Linked DNA regions of Homo sapiens: regions 2 and 3 are each linked to region 1. Evidence: promoter capture Hi-C in human tissues and cell types (Jung and others, 2019). All regions are on one chromosome and are shown on one strand. The core of a region is centred on a gene start or on the middle of the fragment in contact, and the rest is flanking DNA. Distances in the headings are between cores, read along the strand shown.

Region 1 (2,998 bases), core at 169-2,668:
ATCACTCAGCCAGTTGGCCTGAAAGGCAAAAGCTGAACCCTCACTATGACTCCAGCAGCCATGGGATGGCGGTGTGACCTTGGGCAAGAACATTTTTTTCTCACCGATGCTCCCTTACACATCTTTAAGATGAGCGGGGCATTTTCCTAAATCTGTAAAGTTCCTTTCCGCCTGGACAGAGGAATTGGGGAAAATCTTGCCAGGCCAGGCTCTCCCAGTCTTTCCCCAGGGCTGGGGGAGGCCCCCAGGGAGGGACTCCAAGAGGAGAGGTGAGCGCCCCAGGCTCCGGGCTTTCCCGCAGGGCAGGCTTCGGCCGGTTCGAGAAGGAAACTGCGGCCCCGGGTCCCCAGGCCGCGGGGAACAATGTCCCGGCTGTGCGTGCCCGGAAGCCCGTCATGCACCAGAGACTCGAATCCCAGCTAGGGGTGGGGACCCCCCCTTGGCTGCGTTTCAACGACGCCTTTGTCTACCCCTGGGCCGTGCGAGGGAGAGGACTGACGGATCTGGTTTCAACCGCCTTGACTTTCCCGGGGGTCCCCGGGTCCGGGGGCGCCCCTGTTCCCGGAACCCGGGCCCTCCCACCTCCTCCCAGCCCAGCGCGGCCCCGCCCCGTTCCCGCTCGGCCGCCGTGGGGTTACCATTGGGCAGAGAGCAGAAGGTGGCACAGCCCGCGCTGCAGCACTTGAGGTTGTCGGCGCATTCGCTGTCCGAGACGCACTCTTGCGTGCAGTTCTGGTCAGCCTGGAGCTCGGGGCACACGCCAGTCTTCTCTGCTCCTGTGCCTGGGAGGGGAGGCCCGGGACAGTCGAGGGTGGGGCGTAGCGCCAGCCCCAGAGGATGCCCACCTCCTGCTCCAAACCTTAACCCCAAGGAATTCTCAGTCTCTGGCCCTAGGAGTCCCCTTACAGCCCCCAGAGACTCCTTCTTCCAGACCAGGAGTCCCTGACCCCTGGGAGTACGAGAGCTCCCTAACCCTTGGCGTCGGGGCCCTCAGATCTCAGCCCTAGGGGACGCCGCACAGCTGAGCGTCTCGGAGCTTCCGAGGTCGAGGCAGAGCAGCCCCCACCCCCAGCCCACTGCAGCCACGGAGTGTCCGCGTTCAGCACAGAATCCTCCCAAATTGCAGCCATCAGTGGTCTCTCCACCTCCAGCACATTGGACCCCACACCCTAGGCTCCAAGGGTCCCCGCCACTTCCGCCCCCGGAATTCCCACTTCCCCAGCCTCCAGAGGCTACGCCTCCGCCTGGCTCCATCCTGGCGCTCGTGGCTCGGCCCCTCTAGGCGCCGGGCCTCTCCCCGCCCCACTCACCTGAGACTAGGGTGAAGCCGAACAGCAGCAGGCTGAGGAGGAGGGCGGCGGCTAGCGGGCCTAGGCGACAAGCAGGCATGGTGCTATGCCCGGGCGGGGTGCAGGTGTGAGCCGATGCTCAGGTGCGGGGATTTAACCGCGCGCGCGGGAGGGGGCGTGGGGTAGGGGTGGAGCCGAGCGGGGAAGGGGAGGGTGGAGGGCTTTGCGGGCACCGCGGGCGGGCTGCCACATGAGGTCATTTCACAATCCCCCAGGATCAGGTATCACTCTTGGCCCCGGTGGGAACCAGGAACTTAAGCAGCTTCCAGGACGGGACCAGCTACGGCCGGACCCTTGTCCACGCCTCCCTCCTGACCTCCCTCCTGGGGCCTGAGGGCCAAGGCTCAGGGCTCCTGGGTTTCTATTCCAAGACTCCGAGGTTTCTCCAGAGTGTCCCCAGTGGGCGGTTGAGGAGGATAAGGCAGGGCCCGCAGGGAGGCAGTAGAGCATGCGGGTTAAAGGGTTCGATTTGGGGTCAGCCAGATGAGAGGGCAGATCCCTCTTGATGGAGGGCTAGGGTAGTGATACAGAGCACATAGTAGGGGCTACAGAAATAGCACTTATTATTAATAAACAAACCCTCCTCATCAGAAACAGGCCCAGGAAGGTGAAGCACCTAGCAGTCTCAAGCCGTTTGGGTGTGTGTTTCTGTCTCCCTCTCTTTGTCCTACCGGCCCCTGATCAGGGCTGACTGTGCCAGGCTCTGTGCTCCTTGTCTCAAGGAATTGTCGCCGGTCCTCTGACCGGGGAGTTACTGTTATCAGCTGTATATGACAAAGGAACTGAGTGTTTAGGGATTTAGGACCGCACCTCCACCACAAGGTCCCCTGCAAAGCTGTACAAATAAGGTTTTGAACCCAGGTCTCTCCCTCCAGGCCCTTGTTTTTTCCATTCCGTCGTAAATATTCACTGGGTGCCTACTGTGTGACATATGCAGGGCAAGACGCTTGGTGAAGAGAAAGTCGTCAAAAGGGGCCCTCCAGCACTGGTCTTGAAGGGGTGACAGGGTCTGGGGTCTGACTCCCACCTCCACCACTTCCCACCTGAGGGCCCTGGAATGAATCCTTTCCTGGATCTGAGCTGCCACATCATCAGTGAAAATGACACCTATATGGGACTTCAGTGAGAACACAAATGCAACGTTCCTGCCACGGAACAACCATGTACTCACTGGGAGCATTGAGAGTAGATCCACACTGATTGACACAGGGACTCCAGGCCTGACCCATGATAGGTACTGGATACATGGCCATGAGTGCTCCACAGATAAGTGTCTCCTGTGACGAAGGAGACCAATAAGTATAAATGAAGCTTTAGAATCCAGGGGGTTAAGTGCCAAAACAGAGTTACCCAGGGAGTTAGACAAGAAGTGCTTCCTGCTCCAATGATCTGAGGTTCTAGAAGCCCCAGGAGGTCTTTGCTGCTGGAGGCTAGAGGGGCCCTGGGGCAGTGAACACTGGGATGATAGTGACAGGTGAGTAGGGTTTGGTGATGTGAGTACATCTGGCCACTGTCCCCAAAATGGATGCTGAGAACACCTCCCCCAGCTTCTCATGCTCAACTTGGGGACTGGGGACGTTATTGGGAGGGGCCAGGGCTATTTACTCTGAGCTCAGTCAACAATGAGGGCAGGAGCCAGGTGGGAACAC
Region 2 (2,763 bases), core at 101-2,600, 380 kb after region 1:
CCCACTTCTACCGGCGCCAGAAGGCTCTGGAGGCAGCCGTGCGCAACAGCAACCACCAAGAGTTTGAGGACTTGCTGAGCAGCATTGATGGGGTGTCGGAGGCATCTCTGGAGACATCCCGAGAAACCTCTCAGGAGGGACAGTCTGCAGATCTAGAGAGCCAGGCCCCCAGTGAGCCTCCACACCCTCAGATGTATTAAAACCAGGGATCCGTGACCCCCTGCCATGCCCCTACAGTAGAGATTCCTCCCCTGCTAAAGTTCTTCATGGTAGTGAGCCTCCCAGGATCACTCATGCTGTCCTGAGAAATGAGATTCAAAAGCTGCATTCCTTCCTCCAAAGGCCCAGGACAGGACAGTGCTACCCTAGATTCTGTGAGATTCTGCAAGCAACTCAGAAAGCTTTATAAACCTGCCTCCAAGCCATTCATGAAGCAGGCATGAGCCAGAGGGAGGAAGTTGAAAGGATACTAATGATTCCTGAGCACCTCCTGTACATGAACCAGGTCATGTTTGGCCTTGTGTTGGAGAAAGAGAATTATCCCCACTTCACAGATGAGGAAACCAAGGCTAAGAGATGAGCGATGCCTCTCCCAGATGTCACAATTAGAAGTGGCAGAGTCAGGTTTGGAATCTGGGCTTGTTGGTGTGCCTGGAGCAATGCTCCATCAACTCCATCTTTCTTCTGCCCTCATGAAGTTTGCGTGTGTTTTTTGGTGATTCATGGATCCCCAGAGTTGATCCACAAGATAAGAAATCCCTTTCAGAGCCAGGGAAGGGTCCAGACAGGAGATTTGGATATAGGAGCTCTGGATCTCAGCTGTGGTTCCTTTCTAGGAGCATCCAACAGGAGTCAGCAATCAAAGATGAGTCCTGGAGGGAAGGAGGATGAGTCCTGGGAGGAAGTACCATAGCATTGTACTTGCCTCTTTAGCTGGTATGCAAGATTTGCTAAGCAATAATCTTCCGACCTTCCTCCCAGGGCTGATGTGAGAGAAAGAAAATCTGAAGGGCCCCTGGCCTGAGATCTAGACAACCTAGCTGCGCCAAGACCTGCTGTGTAAAGTGGTCCAATCCCTGCCCCCAAGTCCAGATTCCAGCCCCTCTGTCAAATGGTCAGAATCTGTGACCCAGAGGGCAATGAAAGCCAAGGAGAGCAGAGGGGTCTCTAACTTAAAGCCAGCTCAGCTCTGAAATGTTCAGAGGGCTGACATATATGAATACTGGCTTCTAAGACCCTCCCCCAACAGTCTGACCTTGGCAGTTCCTTTCTGCCCATCACACAGACGTCCAGCCCTACATTGTCCAGCCCTACCTAGAGTACCCATCCAGGCCCATGTGTGAGAGTCCTCTCCCTTCTGGCCAGCTCCAGCCCCCTCACCCTTGCTGGGGGCATATCTCTCATACCCACCTGCTGAATCTTCTCTTCACTTGCTGAGAAAGTCAGAGGAGGGGATCCAGTAGCCCTTTCCACATACTGTGGCTACAGCACCCAGCACTGTGCTGTTGTTGTCTGACTGTGGCTATCTCTGTCCCATCACCCTGAGCCTCAAGATGGAAGACATTGTCTGCTTGAACTCTGGGCTTGGTGCAGAGTAGGTATTTGGTAAATGTTGAATAGATCAACCAATTCCTACAGCCCACTGGGTGCCAAGCTCAGAGGGGGAAAAAAAGATAGCCAGAGAGAGACCTGGCCCTCAAAAAGGTGTGAACAAGACTGAAAAGGAGGTCCGTTCAGCTCCGCCTGCCCTGTCCCTGCTTGGTTCTTGAAGTTTTTACAATATATTCCTTGTAGGTTCTTCACTCACTCACTCAACAAATACCCGTTGGAAGAGTCTTAAACTGGGGCTTCATGTGTGGCCTGCAGTCATGTTTCGGCTTAGTCCAACAGTGTTTTTATTATATTTTAAGAATCTGAATGCCTTTGCGTGAGGCATGCACTCTCAGGTTCCCCATAGTGTCTCCCCCGCTGCCACCCACAAACAGACACACATGCCGTTGTGTTATGCCCAGCCACTCTGATATACTGGCTTCTGACTTATGGGCTGCTTACTAGTCTCAAGAGATACAGTGGTGGAAAAATATATCCCTATACTCATGAAGCTTACCGACTAGTAGGGAAGATAGACTCTAATGCAATAATCACATAAATATAGCGAGCTCTACTAAGTACAGGTGTGTATAATGTATCAGGGACCATGGCCCGAGAAAGTGAGAAGGCTTTCCTGAGCAAGTGACAATCTAACCTGCCATCCAAATGATAAATTGCTAATTAAGCAAATGAGGTTCCAGGGGGGAGTACTCCAAGCAGAGAGAATGGCATGTGTGAAGGTGTGTGTCATACACAGGGCCTAGTACATAGTGGGCCCCCTACATACGCATGGATTCTGGGTCTCCAGATTGGAACAGAGGATGGAGCTAAGCAGCAAAGGGCCTCCCTTGAATTCACCACACACATACCAGCCCTTCTGCACACTCTGCTCCTTACATCTAGGCCCAGCTGAACCCAGGTTAGGGGCAGATCAGAAGGGCTGCGTGTAGCACCCTTATGGTCTTGCAGAACACACCAAGAAACCCGACGGCTTCCATATTTTCTGACCCTACAAACAGGTCCCTAATACTGATGTGGAGAAAGCTCAAGAGGGAATCATCTGGCCTGAGCCTACCATGAGGCTGTTTGTGGTCCTGGCAGAAAAGCAACAACTCGCTCCCCTTCCCATGTATCAGTGAAAACCATTATGCAAATAAAGAGCTGGGCCCCAGG
Region 3 (3,015 bases), core at 150-2,649, 420 kb after region 1:
GTAAAAACAAGCCACTTTTAGGTACTATAAGCTATTAAGATTTGGTAATTCTAAATTAATTATGTATTTTTTAAACCCTTGGTTGTTAGAAAAATATAAAGCTCGATTGCTACCTTACTCTTAACACCAAGACAAATACATGATAGATTAAATATTGAGAAAGAAAAAATAATAAAACATTCTAAAACAAAGTAAGGGTTAATATTTTTGTAATCTTAGAATGTGAAAAACTTTCCCAAAGATGACATAAAATTCCAGAAACCACAAGAAAAAGCTAATAAATCAAAATATATAAAAATTTAAATGTCTGAAGTTAGATACCATATACAAAGCTTTAAAAGATATTCTAGCAGAATATCTTTACCACATATGTTAAAAGGTTCATAACCTGACTTGATAGCTGAAGAAGTCTTTAAAATCAATAAAGAAAATAAGAATTCCATGGAAAATTCAGTAAATAATATAAAGCAACAATTCACATACCAAAAACGATAGGGAAATTTAACAATATGTATCAAAATTTCAAATTTGTGAACAGTTTGACCCAATAATTCTACTGCAGGAATTAATTCTAAGGGCGTACCATGCAAAGATGTTATTAAAGCAATATTTATTAATATTAAAAAGCTGAAGGCTACCTAAATGACCATCAGCTGGAGACTGGTTAAATCAGAGATCACAAACACAAATGTTTTGAGAGACTGGCAAAGACAACAGAAATAAACTCAACAGTCTGCTCATAAAACAAAAACAGGAAGTGATGGGGTCTGTGAAGAGCTGGAGAACTCAGACCCATTTCAGTAGTTCAAAGTATAAAAATTACATGTGCCACAGGCCAAACTGGCTCCCCCTTTCCCAGTCCCCACACACCCCCAGAGTGAGATGTGTAATCTGTAGCCATGGCACGAGCACTGCTGACTGTTCTCTCTGCAGCCAGCCTAGGAAGATCCCCTTACTCTGAATGCTCGTCTGTTCTATCACATTTGAGTAGATACAAAGGAGCTCATTGATGTGGCCAAACGGATTCTCAGGATTAACAAAACCTTAAAGGTCATCTAGTCTAACTTGAAGCTTTCCTTGAGGCTGCAGTCATTCAGACGTTTAGGCCCAGGTGAACAGTGTAGAGAGGGGAGGGGAAGGAAGTGGAAAGTGATGGAGTACAAAGCCAGAAGTCAGGGAATGAGGACTACACTTGGCTTTCCTGTGGGATTTTCATTTTCCACAACAACAAAATTGAGATGGGAGGAGAAGTGGTGAGAATTCTTAAAAAGCTGAAATCCTGTGCATCACATATTTTCTGTATCACTGTACGTAAAACTCCATTAACCGAATACCAGGAACTCAAGCATTATTCTAATATGAAGTGCTGAATTCACAGTACCATTGTTAAACATCCGTTTAGCAATGAACTCTGGGCAGCTGTTACCCTCACTGACCAAGCTGGCAAAGGGAAGAGTTCCACAGATAATGTGACAGATTGTATATGGTATTTTTACTGCAAGATCTTAATTCATCCCAGGAACTGTTTTAAAAGAATAGTTGTAGTTTATAATTGCAGTCTCAGCAGCACTTCCAAAAGTGGAAAACCTCCACTTGAAATTGGAATGGAACATTTCTTCCCAATGTGTGAAAATAACTTTATGCTTGGTCCTGCATATCTAGGAATAAGAGCACTTGGGAGGGGGTAGAAAATTTCCTGACTTTACCTCATTTTTAATAGCACTACATTAAGATTTATTAAACTAGATGCATCCATGTCTAAAGAACAGTTTTTGCTGTGTATTTTCTCCTAAGTAAAGGGCAAATGGAAGTGACTAGTGGGTCTATAAAGTAGATTCAAGTTTGCTCTCCCTCCAGCTGCTGGCCACCCTCTGATCCAATGCTCTGCAATGTGAACTCTGCTTGATGAAAGGGTACCCTCGGCAGCTGATGGATCCCATACAGCTCTCTCTGTCTCTCTCTGTCTCTTTCATACATACGCACATACATTTACTTGAGCTATTTTACATTAACAAATGTACCATCAGGAAAAAACTGTTTTGAAAAAAAAAACATCAATGTGGGAACTGTCCAGGACCTATAGCCTCCAGGCAGGCACAGAAGGGAAGCAATCAGAGAAAACACAAAAGGTCTATCAGTGTTTTAGTGAGTATCCTTGATATTTAAACCCTAGGAACAAGAAAGTCATAACAGAATTAAGCTCACCCTAGGAACAAGAAAGTCATAACAGAATTAAGCTCATCTTAGGTATAAAATAAATATCATGGCTGGGCATGGTGGCTCACGCCTGTAATTCCAGCACTTTGGGAGGCCGAGGCGGATGGATCACCTGAGGTCAGGAGTTCGAGGCCAGCCTGGCCAACATGGTGAAACCCCGTCTCTACTAAAAATACAAAAATTAGCCGGGCATGGTGGCGGGAGGCTGAGGCAGGAGAACCACCTGAACGCAGGAGGCAGAGGTTGCAGTGAGCCAAGACCACGCCACTGCACTCCAGCCTGGGCAACAGAGCAACACTCCGTCTCAAAAAAAAAAAATCACAAAGCAAACAATGTGTGAACTAGCAGGGCCTGCAACAAAAGTGTGAAATAAGTGTAGGTCTTCCTCTTACCTTCCTTTTTTAGGGCAGCCCACCTCAGTATCTTTCCCTTTTCCAGTAGTTCATCCATGTCTCCCACCCTAAGTGTTACACATGTAAATAAAATTTACTGAATGCCTACTCTGTGTCAGATACTCTGCTAAGCACTTTAAAAGCATTTTTAAATTAATCTTCTCAATAACTCAGAAGTAAATATGATTAGTATCTTCATTTTAGGTTGGGTGAGAAGCCTAGAGTTACTGGTCCCATAAATAATGAAACCAGCAATGGATCCAAGTCTATCTGCTCTTGGTCAGTATATCAGACTGCCTTCTATGCTCATGTTGGCGTCCTGGGTGTCCTAAGCATTTCTCTGCTTTTAAAAGAACAGGAAAAGAACCTTATATATACTGAGCATCTTTTACACACTTTACACAAG

What was found. The method cuts DNA at HindIII sites, captures the fragments that hold promoters and counts their contacts. A contact is called where the count stands out against the background at its distance.
Region 2: a contact is called between a fragment that was not itself captured here and the fragment with the promoter of WFDC2 in region 1, in 2 of the 25 tissues and cell types used here (dorsolateral prefrontal cortex and small bowel).
Region 3: a fragment that was not itself captured here is called in contact with the fragment with the promoter of WFDC2 in region 1 in 1 of the 25 tissues and cell types used here (dorsolateral prefrontal cortex).

The regions. Positions count from the first base shown.
Region 1 is chr20:45,468,173-45,471,170 of GRCh38, reverse strand. It overlaps WFDC2 (WAP four-disulfide core domain 2), which reads right to left and starts at 1,418. Exons shown (of 4, transcript NM_006103.4): 1 at 1,311-1,418; 2 at 639-782. The coding sequence starts at 1,389. RefSeq lists silencers at 494-543, 564-753. The HindIII fragment of the contact is 12,073 bases long and covers 1-2,998 here.
Region 2 is chr20:45,092,307-45,095,069 of GRCh38, reverse strand. KCNS1 (potassium voltage-gated channel modifier subfamily S member 1) reads left to right here. Exons shown (of 4, transcript NM_001322799.2): 4 at 1-2,763. The coding sequence ends at 200. Among named protein-coding and RNA genes, the nearest start is that of KCNS1, 7.4 kb to the left of the region's middle. The HindIII fragment of the contact is 5,760 bases long and covers 1-2,763 here.
Region 3 is chr20:45,048,032-45,051,046 of GRCh38, reverse strand. All of the region lies in intron 10 of STK4 (serine/threonine kinase 4), which reads right to left. Among named protein-coding and RNA genes, the nearest start is that of KCNS1, 52 kb to the left of the region's middle. The HindIII fragment of the contact is 3,661 bases long and covers 1-3,015 here.